Regions from separate parts of the Homo sapiens genome. Here all the other regions are linked to region 1. The links are contacts of gene promoters, found by promoter capture Hi-C in blood cells and fetal thymus (Javierre and others, 2016). All regions are on one chromosome and are shown on one strand. The core of a region is centred on a gene start or on the middle of the fragment in contact, and the rest is flanking DNA. Distances in the headings are between cores, read along the strand shown. Region 1 holds the start of THAP3 (THAP domain containing 3). Region 2 holds the start of ACOT7 (acyl-CoA thioesterase 7). Region 3 overlaps PLEKHG5 (pleckstrin homology and RhoGEF domain containing G5). Region 4 holds the start of TNFRSF25 (TNF receptor superfamily member 25).

Region 1 (4,233 bases), core at 192-2,691:
AAGATCTACCCTGAGATAACGCCTGTCCAGTGTCTTCACCACGTGAATAACCAGCGCTCCAAAGTGTTTTTCTGCTTTGAAAAAAAAAAATTCCACAAGCTTTTAAAGGTGCATTTAAGAATCCATGTGACTTTAGAATGGAACTGCCGGCCCTGGCAACTGTCACGTGTGCTAGAAGGTTCGATGCCTCTGGAATGCATGTGATACTCATCTCCATTTTGTTTCCTTGATTGCATTTTTGTTCTTTTAGCAGATCTGTCCCTGTGGGTGGTGTCTAAGAAGTCGGACACCTTGGTTTTTGTGTTAGATTGAGCTGGGCAGCTGCAATCAGCTTCTTTATATGCAAATTAGGCACGACCCATCTGTGGTTCCTGGTTGGTGGCTAATGAAGTGAGGGGAGGGAGGGATGTCACCCCAAAAGTAGGCCCTCCCATTGGCTTTGGCCAGGCCAGACACTTCACATCGTTTACATGGTTCTGTGTAATTTTAAAGTTTATGTGTATAAAGCGAAGCTGTTTCTGTGAAACTGTATATTTTGTAAATAAATATATTGCTACTTTGAGGTTCATGATTCAAGGTTCAGGCGATTGCGTTCTGTGCTGAAGGACAATTGTGTTTCTTTTCTCCTTGCTACCTCCCCAAAGCATGATTACATCAAGTCTCTGGGAAGGCAGCGTCTCAGTGTGCACTTAGCAGGATGGAAAATGCCCACGGTGTTAAGGTACCTTGCTGGTGAATTCCTTAGAAACAAACCACAGGACGAGTAGATGTGAATGGTTTTTGCAGTTTCTTCATCAGATTGAGGATTAGCTCAAGCCCCAGTGAGTGGTTAGCCTACTTTTGATTTTTTTTTTGTTTTTGAGACTTGAGTTTCGTTCTTGTCACCTAGGCTGTGAAGTGCTGTGATGAGATTTTGGCTCATTGTAACTTCCACCTCCCGGGTTCAAGAGATTCTCCTGCTTCAGCCTTCCGAGTAGCTGGAATTACAGGTGCCCGCCACCATGTGCGGCTAATTTTTGTATTTTTAGTAGAGATGGGGTTTCACCATGTCGGTCAGGCTGGCCTTGAACTCCTGATCTCAGGTGATCCGCCTGCCTCGGCCTCCCAAAGTGCTGGGATTACAGGCGTGAGCCACTGCGCCTGGCCGATTTTTTTTTTTTTCTTCTTACAAGATGACGCCTTCCCTATAGGCTGCTTTGAGAAAGCTGCAGCCTCGGAGTTTCTGCAAGGCCTGAACTGGAATCTCCCTCCCCTTCAGTTGCCCTTTTTGCCTCTTCACGTTTGGGGGTTCCCTGTGACCAAACTTAAGGGCAGTGAGCTGTCTGGCCTCTGAACTGACACCACCAGTGGCCAACTAGTACCACCTCCAGTGACGTCAGAGGAGTCCAGACCTATTCACAATTCAAAGCCCTAAAAACACTGAGGGGTTGGCCGTTGGTTTCCAGTTGTCCAAGCCTGTGAGTGGCTATGCGTCCTGGTTGGGTGCTCAAAGCAAGGAGGTGAAAGGCGACCAGCATTGGCGAATGGGGTAAGACTTGCACAGGCCCAAGGCTAGGAGTTGGGGTTTCGGGCCTGAATTGGGGCCCGGAGCACCCCTTTACGTGGCGCCCCGGGTCCCGTCCGACCCTGGGGAGACGCGGGTGGCTGGGATGGCAGGATGAGCGCGCCCTGGAGGCGAGCCAGGCCCGTCACCACCTCCCAGCGGCCCCGCCCCTCCCCGCAGGTCCCTCCCCTCTCCGCAGGCCCCGCCGCCGCCGCCATCTTTGTTGGGGGCAGCCAGGCCTGGCTCGAGATGCCGAAGTCGTGCGCGGCCCGGCAGTGCTGCAACCGCTACAGCAGCCGCAGGAAGCAGCTCACCTTCCACCGGTAAGAGGCGGGGACCCGGGGGCGCGGGAGGCCCAGACCCGGGGCCCGCGGACCGACTCCGAGGCCTTGGCGCGCCGGGCGGGAGGCCCAAAGGCGTGCGGCCGCTGGGCCCGGGGACAGGCCGAGGTCCTGGGCCCAGAGGGGCTGGCGCCGCCGCGCCCGCCGCGGGGATGCGGGGAGTGGCGGACGGAGGGGCAGCGGCGCACCTGGCGGGGCCAGGGCCGGGACGTGCAGGGAGCGGAGCAGGTGTTTGCTGAACAGACTAGCGGGCCGCGGCCGGGGTTTGCTGTGTCCCTGGTCGCTGCAGCCCCCGCCGCGCGCGGTCCTGAAGGGAGCCCGGCACCTGGGCAGTGCAGTGGAGGAGTGGAACCCCCAGGGGCGTCCTGGCAGTGGGAAGGGACTCTGCAGGGTCGCGGGAGGACGCTGGAGACTTTGGAGTCTGCTCCAGCACTCGCCCGGCCCGGCCCGGCCCGGCCCAGGAGCAATCGTCATTAGTCACAGTTGCGCTTTCTCCAAGGTCCAGTCACGGCACCATTTCTCTACCCACTTTTGGGCACATTCCGAAGGGGGGCTTGTGCTCATCGTTCCCATTCCCTCTGCTCCCATTGTTCTGTTTTGTGATAAATGCTTTGCTTGAAGTATACGTAATGTACATGCAGAAAAATGCACGAATCATAAGTATACAGCCCAGCGAGTTTTCCCCAAGTGAACGTCACTGAACTGAAACGTTACCAGCTGGGCGCGGTGGCTCAAGCCTGTCATCCCAGCACTTTGGGAGGCCGAGGCGGGAGGATCGCTTGAGCCTGGGAGTTCGAGACCTGCCTGGGCAACAGAAGGAGACCCTACCTCTACAAATAATTTAAAAAAATTAGCCAGGCAAGGTGGTGTGCCCCTGTAGTCCCAGCTGCTCGGGAGACTGAAGTAGGAGGATCGCTTGAACCCAGCTTCGAGGCTGCAGTGAGCTATAATCTTGCCACTGCACTCCAGCCTGGGTGACAGAGCGATACCTCATCTCAAAATAAGAAATAAAACATCACTACCCCCGAGAAGAACCCCTACCTGGACCCCCTCCCAGGCCCTCCTCCTCTCTCCTGCCCAAAGGGAACCCTATCCTGCCCGCTATCAGAGTGGATTGCAGTTCATTCGCTTTCGTTGCCACATAATATTCCATTGAATGCAAGTGCCAGAATTTACTGATTTGTTCTACAATTGAAGGGCATTTGGGTGGCCCCATTTTTTGGATGACAAATACATGGTTCTGGAGGCTGGGCGTGGTGGCTCACGCCTGTAATCCCAGCACTTTGGGAGGCCGAGCTGGGTGGATCACCTGAGGTCAGGAGTTGGAGACCAGCCTGACCAACATGGTGAAACCCCGTCTCTACTTCTCTACTACAAATACAAAAATTACCCGGGCGTGGTAGCGCGCACCTGAAATCCCAGCTACTCAGGAGGCTAAGGCAGGAGAATCACTTGACCCTGGGAGGCAGAGCTTGCAGTGAACCGAGATCGCACCACTACACTCCATCTTGGGCAACAGAGCGAGACTCCGTCTCAAAAAACAAAACAAAACAAACATTGTTTTGGCCAGTTTTGGTGGGACTTGTGTTGCAGTGCATCTATCTGTTTTGCCTCTGTCAGGTATGTACTTGGGGATGGAGTTGCTGCGCCTTCTCTCTTGAAGTCGTTTCCTCCACTCCCACGAGAGCTCTGTCACATCACTAGTGAGCCTTGTGACACTGATCGATTGCATAGCATTTCACACAACTGACCCCTGAGCCTGGGTCACTTTTCCCGCATGGCGTCTGGTACACTTCTTGGCCACAGGTGTCTCTTCTCAGTCTCCTTTGCTGGATCCTCCTTATTTCCAGCACTAAGTGTTGGAGCCCTGGGGTGTGGGCCATGGCCCAGGGGTGGCTTCTAGCCACACTTGCTCCCCAGGGGCCCATCTCACCCAGGCTTATCGGTTCCGCAGGGTTGGCCGCCACACTGACATCTCCAGATGCGTGTGGCCGCCTGTCACCCCAGCACATGGAGAGCCTAAAAAGCACCTCAAATTTAACTCCTGACATAAAAAACAAACTTCTTTTTTTGGAGACAGACTCTCACTCTGTTGCCCAGGTGGAGTGCAGTGGCGCAGTCTCGGCTCACTGCAGCCTCTGCCTCCCTGGTTCAGGTGATTCTTGTGCCTCAGCCTCCCAAGTAGCTGGGATCACAGGAGTGCGCCACCACGCTGGGCTAATTTTTGCATCTTTAGTAGAGATGGGGTTTCACCATGTTGGCCAGGCTGGTCTTGAACTCCTGAGTTGAGGCAGTCTGTCTGCCTTGGCCTCCCAAAGTGCTGGGATTACAGGCGTGAGCCACCATGCT
Region 2 (3,936 bases), core at 781-3,280, 230 kb before region 1:
TACTCAACTCCCAAAACTGCCATTTCCTCCTCCACACAGGTAAGGGTGGCACTACCGACCATCAACCTCCCAGGGAATTGGGCAAACCAAGTGGGATGAGACAGGTATAAGCTCTTTGCAAACCATGGAGCCCAAGTTTCCCAGCCAATACTCAGCAGAGCTGATTCAGGAACCTGATGCAGGCTGTCTGTCTCCAGTTATTTCCTTTTTTTTTTTTGCCCCGCTTTCCCCACCTCCAGAGTCGATGGGACCAGAACAGCCACAGAGCCAAAGTCAAAGGGGCAGGGCTCCCCCAAAGACGTTCCCCCTCTGGAAAAGTCAAAACCGACCTTGAGGTAAGGAGAGGCCCTCGACCAGGCCAGAAGATGAGACTGAGAGTCAAGAATCGCCATAGACCCAGGACTTGCTATATGCCCAGCCTTCCTGGAGATGTCAACATCTACAGGAAAGTAACTTGCTTCTATTGGACTTGGCTTGAGCCCAAGGTCAGTCTGTGATGCCCAACCCCCAAATGTGAGGAACCCACTACCAAAACAGAAAGCAGCTCTCACTCCTGGTAGTTCATCAAGCAGGATAGGACCGGTCGCAGGCCACAGAGCCTGTGTGCAGTGGCTGAAAACCTAGACTCCTTGTCCTCACTTAGCTCATGCACAAATGCCAGCCTGCTGCTTCCGATTCTGCCGAAGAGAACTGCAGAGTAACCTTCAGGCTGCCCTCCCCACCTCCTATGGGAAATGAGCTTGTTCATGATCTCCAGCCTCCAGCTTCCTCTGGGGGCCTGCATCTATCTACTCAGTACCTGGTGGAAGAAGAGGGGGTGCTCTAGAAGGACAACCCTTTGCCTCTATTGTGTAAGATGCTTTCAGGCCCAACAGACCACTGATTCCCTTTTCTTCATAGTAAACTGTTAGAGGTAGACAGTATTATCTGTTCTTCCTTTCAACACCTGCCCTCCCCCAAACCGAAGCAGTGCACTGAAGACGGTAGCTCTGCAACCTCCTCCCACAGGGGCACCCACCGAGGGGCTCGCGCGGCTCTGGGCACCTCCCCTCCACCTCTGGGGGCTTTGGTTAGCGCAGCACAACCGCCGAGGTAATGATCCCGAATCCTCGAGGAGGCTAAGCAGGACCACGGGGCTGAGGCTCCGGGATGCTCGGGCGAGGCCCGAGGCGGGGCGGCCCACGGGCGCCGGTCGCCGGGCTCTGGAGCTGTGCATTGACCTCCGCCCGCCCCGTCCCTGCCTGGCTTTCTCGCCCAAACGGCCCGTGGCGCGGCCGCCGCCCTGGAGATGCGGCCAGGAGGAGCCGGCTGGAGGCGGGCGGGGGCCGCCCGGCTTGTGCGGCATCGCGAGTCGCATCCCGGCCGGGCGGGCGTCCGGGGCGGCGGCGCGGAAGGCCGTGCGGGGAATCGGCGGGCGGGGGCGGCCTCGGCGGGTGGGGACCACAGAGCCAAGCGGGGCAGGCCTGGGGCGGTGACCGGCGCGCCTGGCCGCTGCAGGCTGCGCGCGGGCCCTCTCTTACCGGCAGATCTGGATGGCGGACGGCGTCTCGACGTCTGGGCCCGACATGCTGGGGGCTGCGGCGGCGGATGCGGCGGGCGGCTGCAGAAGGGCGCAGGTGTCTGGCAGGCCCGGCGCGGAATGAATGAGCCCGGGCCGCGCCATAAAGGGGGAGGGCAGAGGTGGAGCGATGGGGCTGGTGAGGCGGGGCCTGCGCGCCGGGGGCAATCGAACGCGGCCTCCCCGCGCCGACCCCGCCCCCGCGCCGGCCCCACCCCGAGCCCCGCCTCCCAGGCCGCCAAGGCTGCAGAGAGCTCGCGCGGGCGTACGATTCTGGCGGCGTGGGGGCCCAGGCAGCCGCCGCTTCCAGAAGGTTCGGTGGCGGTTGGGCCGCGCCGGTGCGGGGAAGGCCCGCTAGCCGCGGCAGCCGCGCCCGACCCGGTGGCAGCCCCGAGGGAAGCGTCTGGGGCGGCCTAAGTGGCGGAGCAGGGCGGACTTGGGCCCTCACTCTCCGCGCGGCGGTAAATATTTGTGCTGGGCGTTCCCGGCCGCCCGCGCCGCCGATTCGCTGCCGCGCCCAGTGCCTGGGCGGCCGGATGAGGTCAGAGCGGAAGGCGCGGCCCGGGCTCCTGGCAGTGGGGCCTGATTCCCACCCCCGCCCCCAACCCACCCCGGCACCAGTCGCCCGCATCGCGGCTCTCGCTAAGATCGGCCCTAAGAGAGAATGGAAGGCTGTTTCCTAGAAAGGAGCATTGGTGGCGGCTGCTGGGAAGACACGGGGAATGGAACGGGCCTTTGCTTCCGCAGCACAAAGCGTCACGAGGTGGGGAGGAGGAAAGGCCGGCGACTATCTACACCGCCGCCTGCAGCTTTTACTGGGAGCGCTGAGCGCCAGCCTGGAGGTGCACGTGTTGCAGTGAGGAGCCCTGAAACATGCGTGTTTTACTGCACAAGATGTGCCCTTGAATGGAGTCTAGGCCAGTCGGGGTCACCAAAAAAAATCCACCAAAAAACACCCAAGAAGGGAGAAGCGGTCACCCCCCACGTGCTGGAATGACAGCTTTTTACTTGCTAGGCAGTTGGACCTTTTCCGAATTTTCTACAATGCACATAGATTTGTACTTACATCTTTAAATTAAAACCCACGCAACTCCGGCTCCCTAGTGCAATTTGAACAACCCATTTACACTCAGCTAGGTAGCTCTGAAGGAACTGTGCCTCACCCCGGTCACCCTTGAGTTACCAGACCGTGGAGGCAGCCCACAGCATGATCTGTAGCTCCCAGAAGCAGGGGCAGTCAAAGTCAGAACTCTGTGATTTCAAGACTTTTATACTAAGAATTTTGTTTTTCTGTTTTCTTTTTTTTTTTTTTTTTTTGAGACGGAGTCTTGCTCTGTTGCCCAGGCTGGAGTGCAGTGGTGCAATCTCAGCTCACTGCAAGCTCCGCCTCCCAGGTTCACGCCATTCTCCTGCCTCAGCCTCCCAAGTAGCTGGGACTACAGGCGCCTGCCACCACGCCCGGCTAATTTTTTGTATTTTTAGTAGAGACGGGGTTTCACTGTGTTAGCCAGGATGGTCTTGATCTCCTGACCTTGTGATCTGCCCGCCTCTGCCTCCCAAAGTGGTGGGATTACAGGCGTGAGCCACCACGCCTGGCCTGTTTTCTTTTTTTGATATAGAGTCTCGTTCTGTCGCCCAGGCTGGAATGCAGTGGTGTGATAGCTCACTGTAACCTCTGCCATCCAGTTTCAAGCAATTCTCCTGCCTCAACCACACTGAGTAGCTGGGACCATAGGCATGCACCACCACGTTTGGCTTATTTTTGTATTTTTAGTACAGATGTGTCCAGAATTGGTGGGTTCTTGGTCTCACCGACTTCAAGAATGAAGCCGCGGACCCTCGTGGTGAGTGTTACAGCTCTTAAGGTGGCGCATCTGGAGTTTCTTCCTTCTGGTGGGTTCGTGGTCTCCCTGGCTCAGGAGTGAAGCTGCAGACCTTCACAGTGAATGTTAACGGCTCATAAAGGCAGTGTGGACCCAAAGAGCGAAAGAACAACACTCCTACAGCGTGGAAGGGGACCAGAGTGGGTTGCCACTGCTGGCTCGGGCAGCCTGCTTTTATTCTCTCATCTAGCCCTACCCACATCCTGCTGATTGGTAGAGCAGAGTGGTCTGTTTTGACAGGGTGCTGATTGGTGTGTTTACAATCCCTGAGCTAGACACAAAGGTTCTCCATGTCCCCACCAGATTAGCTAGATAGAGTGTCGACACAAAGGTTCTCCAAGTCCCCACCAGCGTAGTTAGATACAGAGTGTTGATTGGTGCATTCACAAACCCTGAGCTAGACACAGGGTGCTGATTGGTGTGTTTACAAACCTTGAGCTAGATACAGAGTGCCGATTGGTGTATTTACAATCCCTTAGCTAGACATAAAGGTTC
Region 3 (3,843 bases), core at 373-2,872, 140 kb before region 1:
CAGAACTTGCTCTTTCTCCTGGGGAGCTCCTTGAATGCTGGAGGCAGGGGGCGCTGGTGACACCCCCCCCCACCTTGGAGACTGTGGAGCCCCTCCCCTGGGTGACTCGATCCCCGCCCAGCCCTGGGGGTGCCCACTCTGCTGTGGTCCCCACCTCACCCTCAGCGCCAACACGCACGGTCCCTCCCAGCCAGAAGGGTACCTTCCCTCCTCCCTTCCTCCTGGAGACCCCCACCCCCGCCTCGGAGCCTCAGCCCAGGGGACCCCTTCTTACTCCCAGCAAGGGAGCTCTTAGAATACAGGCACCAGAAGGGGGAGGCCAGGATGGGGCACACTCCCCTCAGGGTCCTTGGTCCGGCTCTCCATCTAGCCCCAGGGACACCCCTCTCTGCTCCAACACCAGCTTTGAGCCCCAGTCACACACCCACCCCAACCTCACAACCAGCTCTCATCTCAGCCCCTCCCATCAACCTGGAGACCCCTGCCCGAGAGCCTGAGCCCCAGGGACACCCCCTCACACCGACTGCTCACTGCCCAGGTACGGCAGAGGCCGAGAGCCAAAGGCCGGTGGCCTCTGGAAAGGGCCGTGGGCAGAAGGCGGGCTGCTCTGAGAGGCTATCCTTGGCAGCCCCCAGGAGCTGGGTGAGGTGGAGGCATCAGGAAACCCTGGCGACCCACATGGCACAGCAGCCCAGGTCCCTGCAGTTCTAGGCCAGGTCCCCACCGCCAGGGGGCACTCAGCAAAGCCTGAGAGGACGCAAACGCCCAGACTCTGGTGCTGGAGTCACCACTACACGGCTGTCAAAGCGCTTTTACACTGATTCCCAGGAAGGCAGGGCAGGCACCATTAGCCCCATTCACGGCGTGGGGGATAAAGTGACATAAAGAGACAAAAGTCTACAGGCAAGACTGAAACTCAGACTGTGGCTCTGGGATTCTGGGATGGCCTCCTTGGGACACTCCTCAGAACCCATGGGGGTGAGGTGGCCATGCTGTCTGTCATCAGCCCACCCACCCCTAATTGCTCCTCCTCCACCTGGTTCCATGGGGAAAGAGGGTGGGAAGGGGGCCAGGGTCCGTGAGATGGCTTTGGGAGGGCAGCAGCGTTTTATTAGAGGCTGGGAGACTTCCAGGGCTGTCTCCACTCCCAAAGCCCAGGTCACCCACTGTCTACACCACAGGCAGAGTTGTGTTTTTGTTTTTTGTTTGTTTGTTTTTGAGACGGAATCTTGCTCTGTCACTCACGTTGGAGTGCAGTGGCATGATCCCAGCTCACTACGACCTCCACCTCCCAGGTTCAAGTGATTCTTCTGCCTCAGCCTCCCCAGTAGCTGGGATTACAGGCGCCCGCCACTACACCCAGCTACTTTTTGTATTTTAGTAGAGATGGGGTTTCGCCATGTTGACCAGGCTGGTCACTAACTCCTGATCTCAAGTGATCCACCCCCACCTTGGCCTCCCAAAGTGCTGAGATTACAGGCATGAGCCACCACACCCGGCCAACAGGCAGAGTTTTGAAAACTAAAACTTCCCATCTTGCTTATAGTGAAATCCCACCATGGCCGGGCTCCCGCCTCCCTCCCAGCTGGTCCGCACAGGGTCCACCTGCCGGTCTTCCTTCTCTCCCTACAGCTCGCCAAGCTCAGGGCCTTCTCCTCTGTATTTTCTGTCTGGAATTCCACGCACCCTATCTTGAAACAGCTGACACCGGGCCCCAACTTAAATGTTACCTCTAAGACGTCCTTTTCCCTCATCTTAAAATAAACCACCCTTACCCTCCCACTCTCAATTCCTTTAAGTTAAATTATTTCCTTCTTAGTGTTTATTACTACCTGTAATTCATTTCTTTGTTCACTTTTTTATCATCATTCTTCCCTACCAGACTGTCCTCTCCAGAAGCCAGCGCCTTGGCCGTCTGCATCTCACTGTGTCCTCGGCACTTAGAACAGTCCTGGTGCACAGTAGGTGCGCTTGGTGGGGATGAGATCAGTGAACAGATGAAGGCAGAAGGGCCTTCATGCCACAGAAGGACATGGGGACAGGAAAGGGCTCGGCCAGGATATCCCTTCCTGTGGCCGACAGTCAACAGAGCCTTCCCCACTGCCAGACCGAAGGTCTCTTCCTCCTCCTAGTATCCATGACCTTGGGCCTGCTGGCCCTGGGCAGGTGAGTTCCTACTTCAAATCGGGTGGTCTTGCCCCAGACCTCCACCCCCATACTGTCCTGTAGGCAGATAACTGCATTTCACTGAGCATTCCATGTGCCACCCCATCGTGGGAGTTCCAGGCAGTGAATCCCATTCGCTCTTCTCAAAGACTCTTAGGAGGAGATACTGTTACAATCCCCATTTAACAGATAGAGAAACTAAGGCCTGTGTCAACTGACTTGCCCCAAAGTCACCAGCTGCTGCTACGTAGGGAAATGGGTGCCTCAGGCACAGGGCAGGCGTGGGGCCTGAAGACAGCTGAATGTTGGTTTGGGCAACAGGGCCCTGGAGATTGCCTTCCTGAAGACACGGCAGATCCCAAAGCCAGCTTGTGGGGAGCCCACCGGTGTGGGGTAACCAGGTTGCATCAAGTGGAGACCACCAGGGCTGGGTCAGGGCGGATCACCAGAGGTCACCTGAGTGCCTGGGCCCTGGCCATCCCTGAGTGAGGCTGCTGCCTGGGTACTCAGCAAGGGTGGGGGACTGTTCCTTAGGGGCAAGAGTGCAGAGCAGAAAGGAGCCCCCAGCCCCTGTACCAGGGCAGTGGGGTGGGCCTGGGCAGGCTCCTGCATTCCCACCTCCTCTCCACAGCAGGGAGCTGAAACAGCTCAGGGGCAGGCCCAAGAAGTCCTGGCCCCCAACTCCCTGGGGAGGGAGCCCCTCCCCAGCCCAGCCCCAGCTCCAGGCTTGTGAGTCAGGGCCGGCTTGTTGAAACTGATACCCAGAAACCAGATGCGGAGGCTGATGAATAATGGAGTCTCCAAGGCAGGACCCCCGCACCCGGCTGTTCTCCCTCAGTATCACCTCCCCCAGCCCCAGAAAAGCAGATGGGAAACCAGGGATCCCCCAGGCATCCCTGCCCCACAACGAGCTGGGGCCCCAGCCTGGTCTGGGTGGGAGAGGGACTTCCCTGTCCAGGAAAGGACGCAGGTCTGGGGCCAGCTCCAGGCTCTGCCGACAGCAGACGGGCCTGGAACCAGGAGTCCGAGCTCTCTGGCTGGAGGGATGTCCTTGCCAGGAATTCCCACCAAGGCTAAGCTCCCCTGGGAGCCTGCTAGTCCCAAGGCCCCACCCAACACCTTAGAAATCCAGGGGTGGAGACTGCATGCATGGGCAGGCCAGCCAGGGCGGGGTGGCTTTGCCAGGCGGCTCTCTACGCTCCACCCGGCCTACCCACCCTCCTTTCCCCTAGGCCCAGGCCTCACCCATCACCCCTTGGGTTCTGAGGCTCACCTGGAGTCAGAGCCTGACCTAAGGCCCTGCCCTGTGCCGGGCAGATGGCAGGGACACAGAAAACCTCTCCCCAGGCTAAGCCCACCGCACGGGCCCTGGAAGCCAGGAAGGCCCCTTCCTCCCCAGGGAGCGGTCCTGGCTAGTATGCCCAAGGCTGGGACCCAGTGCTAGAGAAAGAGGGAGGGGCTGCAGTCTGTGAACATCCCCTCCTGCCCAGCCTCTGCAGTTCCCAGCCCCAGACCCCAGCGTGTGTCTTCGGAGCACCTGGACTAGCAAGCCCTTCCCCGGTGCAACTTAGAAGCCTCCTTGGTAGGGAGCGGGGGAAAGAGGGCACCTGCCTGGGCTTCAGAAGACCTGGTCTGGAGCCTACGTTCCCCCACCCTTCCCCTACTGGGCCTCAATTT
Region 4 (3,785 bases), core at 945-3,444, 160 kb before region 1:
TTTATTTAATAGGTCTCGCTCTGTTGCCCAGGCTGAAGTGCAGTGGCACGATCATAGCTCACTGCAGCCTCAACCTCCTTCAGCCCAAGTTTTAAAGCTATATCAATGTGACTCTCTGTGTAAGTGACAAATCATCTGTAATATCTGGCTAGGATCGCTGGGGGGAATGCTGGCTGAAAGTGAAGGCAAATACCCTTATGTATCTGGCTAAGGCGGATCCAGATTGCTCTTTTGCCATCTAAGTTTGCCTGAAGTGGGGCCCACCCATCACAGGGCCAAGGCTCCCTCCTCCCTATCCCCTCTTCCTATTCCTGAACCAGCAGCACCTGCCCCACCCCAGGCCCCTGCTCTGCTCCCAGCCGCCCTTCCCTCCATCCCACGACAGCTAGGAATTACGTGGGGCAGGACACGCAGCCATCGCCATGTTCATAGAAGCCAGGCAGGCAGGTCCCACAGTCAGTATCTCTGCGGGAACCTGCAATCCAGGAGAGGCATGCGTCACCATGGGACAGGAGTGGGTCAGGCAGGGAGAAGGGGGTCTGGGAGTAGAGAGCCCTGGGTGGGGGTACTCACAGAGTAGCCGTGTGTGGCGGTGCAGGGCCCCGCAGTCTAGGCATGGTTGGCAGTAGAAGGGTGAACTGCTGACACATTGGCTGACCTGGCACTCCACAAACCAGCCTGGCTTACAGCCACAGCGGGTGTCGGCCACTGCTGAACAGTTCTCCAGCGCCACCTGGGAGGCTGGTGGGGGTGCAGGGAGATGGGGAGTGGAGAGTTAGTCAGGGCCAAAGGCTCCCATGGAGAGGCAGAGGCATTATCCCAAGATAATGGAGACAGAAATAGGCGAAAGACAGACAGGTACAGGGCTACCCTAAAAAAGAGAGAAGCTCAGAGATTAAGGCCGACCAGAGGCCAAGGCACATGGAGAGATGGGAAGGTCACCAGGAAGAGAGAAGGGGCAAGGGCACCCTGAAGGAGGATCAGGGTGGAGGGTTCTGGCAAGGGTGGGTGCAGGACCCTCACACCCCAAGTTTGGGCCCGAGCCAGCCACTTCCTTCAGAAAGGCCTGTCCTTAGGAACTCCCTGCCAAGCACTGAGAAGCCCCTCACCCTGCTCATCACAGGCCTGGCAGCGGGCACATTCAGAATTATGGTGGTTCTCCCAGGCCAAGAAGGTGTCTTGGGGACACACAAGGCAGGTGGAGTTGCCGCAGGGCTCCGTGCAAGGGGCCTTCAGGTAGTGCCCTGTGGAACCAGGCAGGGGTCAGGCAGGCAGAGGGGCTGCCCAGCAACCCCCGACCTGCTTCCCACCCTGCCCTCCCTCCCTCTTTCTCTCCAGCTCCCTACTTCTCTGTCAGCCTACCCCTACCTCCCCTGCCAGCCTCCTCTTACCTCCCGGGCCTGCCCGCCACCTCTCCAGCCCTGCCTGCCCCATGCCTCTCCCACCCCTGTGGCCACTTACCCGCTGGGCAGCCTCTGCAACAAAACAGACCAATCTTCTTGTGGAAGTCACCGGCACAGTCACACCTGGGGCTACGAGTGCCGCCCTGGGCCCGGGCCCCCAGCAGCACCAGGAGGAGCGCCTGGGGGACAGGTGCTGCTGACTCTCAGCGCAGCTGCCCACGTGGGGCCTCTCCCTGCTGCGTCTCCTCCATTTCAGAGGCCCCAGCATTTGCCCACAGAGCAGCCCACTTCCCAGGCCCCGGGCAGAAGGGGTGCCCATGGGTGGAGAGGAAACTAACTTCCTTCCCCCCGCGCACACACCAGGCTTCGGAGGGGGCGCTTACCAGCCCCTCACAAGTTTCCCCTCCACCAGAGCAGGAATCCAGCAGCGCCCCCACCCCCACCCATGCTTTCTGTTGGGGGAGGGACACTGATAATGCTCTGCCTGGGGCCCCCAGACCCTCCTGGGAGGGGTTTCCTCTCAGTGGAAGGGCTACGCCCTGGAGGAGCCTTTAACGAGATCGGAAAGGGCGGCCAACCCAGCCCCCAGTGAGGCTTGGAGTGGAGACGCGCCCGGGGCCCCTTCCTTCACCGAGGCTCTTGGGACAGGGCTCAAAGCTGCCCCTAGCCTCCTGCGTCTCAACTCACCGCCGCCACCGCCGCGCAGCCCCGCGGCCGCTGCTCCATAGCCCTCCGACGGGCGCCCAGGGGCTTCCCGGCTCCGTGCTCTCTGCCCGTCGTGGTTCCGCCTTCAGCCCCGCGCCCGCAGGGCCCGCCCCGCGCCGTCGAGAAGGGCCCGCCTGGCGGGCGGGGGGAGGCGGGGCCGCCCGAGCCCAACCGAGTCCGACCAGGTGCCCCCTCTGCTCGGCCTAGACCTGAGCTCATTAGGCGGCAGCGGACAGGCCAAGTAGAACACGCGAAGCGCTGGGCTGCCTGCTGCGACCAGGGGCACAGGATAGAGCTGCATCTCGGTCCCCACCCCGACTCTCGCCCCAACCCTGAGAACCACTTCAAGGTAGAGCCAGGGCAAGTGACTTCTCTCTCGGCCTCCGCGTCCCCAGCCATGGAGGAGGTTGGGCCAAAAGTACCGCAAGGGGCCAAGCGCAGTAGCTCAGGCCTGTAATTCTAGCACTATGGGAGGCAGAGGCGGGCGGAACACTTGGGGTCAGGAGTTCGAGACCAGCCTGACCAATATGGTGAAATGCCGTCTCTACTTAAAATACAAAAACTAGCCCGGCGTGGTGGTGCACACCTGCAGTTCCAGCTACTAGAGTGGCTGGGGCAGGAGAATCGTTTGAACCCGGGAGGCAGAGGTTGCAGTGAGCCGACATCACACCACTGCACTCCAACCTAGGTGACAGAGTGAGACTCTGTATTAAAAAAAAAAAAAAAGTTCCTGAAGGGACCCCCATGGAGGACCCACCTTCCCAAGAGGGCTGGCCTGAGTGTGGGAACTGGGCAGATTCAGCCCTGAATCCCCGGGGGGCACCTGGGGAGAGGCTCTGATGGTGGCTGAAGGTGGGGAAGTCTGGGGGTGTTGGTCTGGTGGCACCCCACACCCCATTACTTCCCAGTGCTTCCCATGGCAAGCTCCATCCGTGGCCCATCCGTGGCAAGTGGAGGAGCACAGGAACACAAGGAGGCCGCCCTGAACTCAAGTGCCCCGAGTCACTGGGCCCCAAAGCAAAGGACTCTTCCCAGTGGAGTCTAGACAAGTCTTTATAAAAGAACCAAAAGCTCAATAAATACGTAACTTCACAGAACCCAGCCCAAGCCAGGGGTGGCCTGTGGGACTGGGAAGGTGGGGGCAGGGCAGGAGTGAATCCCACTGGAGGCCAGTGAGGGTAGAAGTAGGATGGGCAGCCTAGGAGCCCAGCCCTGAAGACTCGAGCTGAGCTGGTAACTTCGGGGAGTAGGTGACGAGGGGCTGCCTGGGCAGGTGGGGTGGTACTGTGGCCTGGGCCTCCTCCACTCCATCCAGTCCGGCAAAGCGCAAATCGGGCCCGGGCGTAGGCAGGGATCCTGCCCAGCATCCGGCTCATGCATACAGGAGGCAGTAGCTGAAGCAGGTGCCGGCACGCCCCAGGAGGCAGGCTGTCTGCTGTCTCTTGGTCAATGGCACTCTTGGGGGCCTCCCTCTGCTCAGACCTCCCTACAGGGTGGGGAGGGGACAGAGTCCTTCTTTGGCTGACGCCATTCAGAGTGGCTCTGGTCACCCTCTCTTCCCCACGGCACTCCTCAGGCCCCTTCACTGCTGCCCACCACAGCCCCCTGCGCCCAGACACTGGGCAGGGTTCAGGCTCCCTCCGCCATGACCCTCCCCAAATGCGATGCTCCCAGGCA

Evidence for each region. Contacts are between HindIII fragments. The CHiCAGO score rates a contact against its expected background, and 5 or more counts as called.
Region 2: the fragment with the promoter of ACOT7 here is called in contact with the fragment with the promoter of THAP3 in region 1 in 11 of 17 cell types (non-activated CD4 T cells, naive CD8 T cells, activated CD4 T cells and 8 more); the score reaches 11.3 in non-activated CD4 T cells.
Region 3: a fragment that was not itself captured here is called in contact with the fragment with the promoter of THAP3 in region 1 in 11 of 17 cell types (naive CD8 T cells, naive CD4 T cells, fetal thymus and 8 more); the score reaches 11.9 in naive CD8 T cells.
Region 4: the fragment with the promoter of TNFRSF25 here is called in contact with the fragment with the promoter of THAP3 in region 1 in 5 of 17 cell types (activated CD4 T cells, non-activated CD4 T cells, naive CD4 T cells and 2 more); the score reaches 11.2 in activated CD4 T cells.

Annotation. Positions count from the first base shown.
Region 1 is chr1:6,623,427-6,627,659 of GRCh38, forward strand. It overlaps THAP3 (THAP domain containing 3), which reads left to right and starts at 1,442. Exons shown (of 6, transcript NM_001195753.2): 1 at 1,442-1,528; 2 at 1,724-1,866. The coding sequence starts at 1,793. PHF13 (PHD finger protein 13) reads left to right here. Exons shown (of 4, transcript NM_153812.3): 4 at 1-604. RefSeq lists a silencer at 1,833-2,242. The HindIII fragment of the contact is 4,820 bases long and covers 98-4,233 here.
Region 2 is chr1:6,391,737-6,395,672 of GRCh38, forward strand. It overlaps ACOT7 (acyl-CoA thioesterase 7), which reads right to left and starts at 2,031. Exons shown (of 9, transcript NM_007274.4): 1 at 1,521-2,031. The coding sequence starts at 1,663. RefSeq lists silencers at 1,342-1,431, 1,702-2,151 and enhancers at 1,380-1,891, 1,892-2,404, 2,405-2,915, 3,668-3,936. The HindIII fragment of the contact is 26,067 bases long and covers 1-3,936 here.
Region 3 is chr1:6,485,916-6,489,758 of GRCh38, forward strand. The region is part of intron 1 of PLEKHG5 (pleckstrin homology and RhoGEF domain containing G5); the gene reads right to left. Among named protein-coding and RNA genes, the nearest start is that of PLEKHG5, 3.8 kb to the right of the region's middle. The HindIII fragment of the contact is 7,493 bases long and covers 1-3,843 here.
Region 4 is chr1:6,463,979-6,467,763 of GRCh38, forward strand. It overlaps TNFRSF25 (TNF receptor superfamily member 25), which reads right to left and starts at 2,195. Exons shown (of 10, transcript NM_003790.3): 1 at 2,091-2,195; 2 at 1,462-1,582; 3 at 1,110-1,244; 4 at 574-741; 5 at 397-475. The coding sequence starts at 2,129. PLEKHG5 (pleckstrin homology and RhoGEF domain containing G5) reads right to left here. Exons shown (of 21, transcript NM_020631.6): 21 at 3,144-3,594. The coding sequence ends at 3,585. RefSeq lists an enhancer at 2,016-2,964. The HindIII fragment of the contact is 14,059 bases long and covers 1-3,785 here.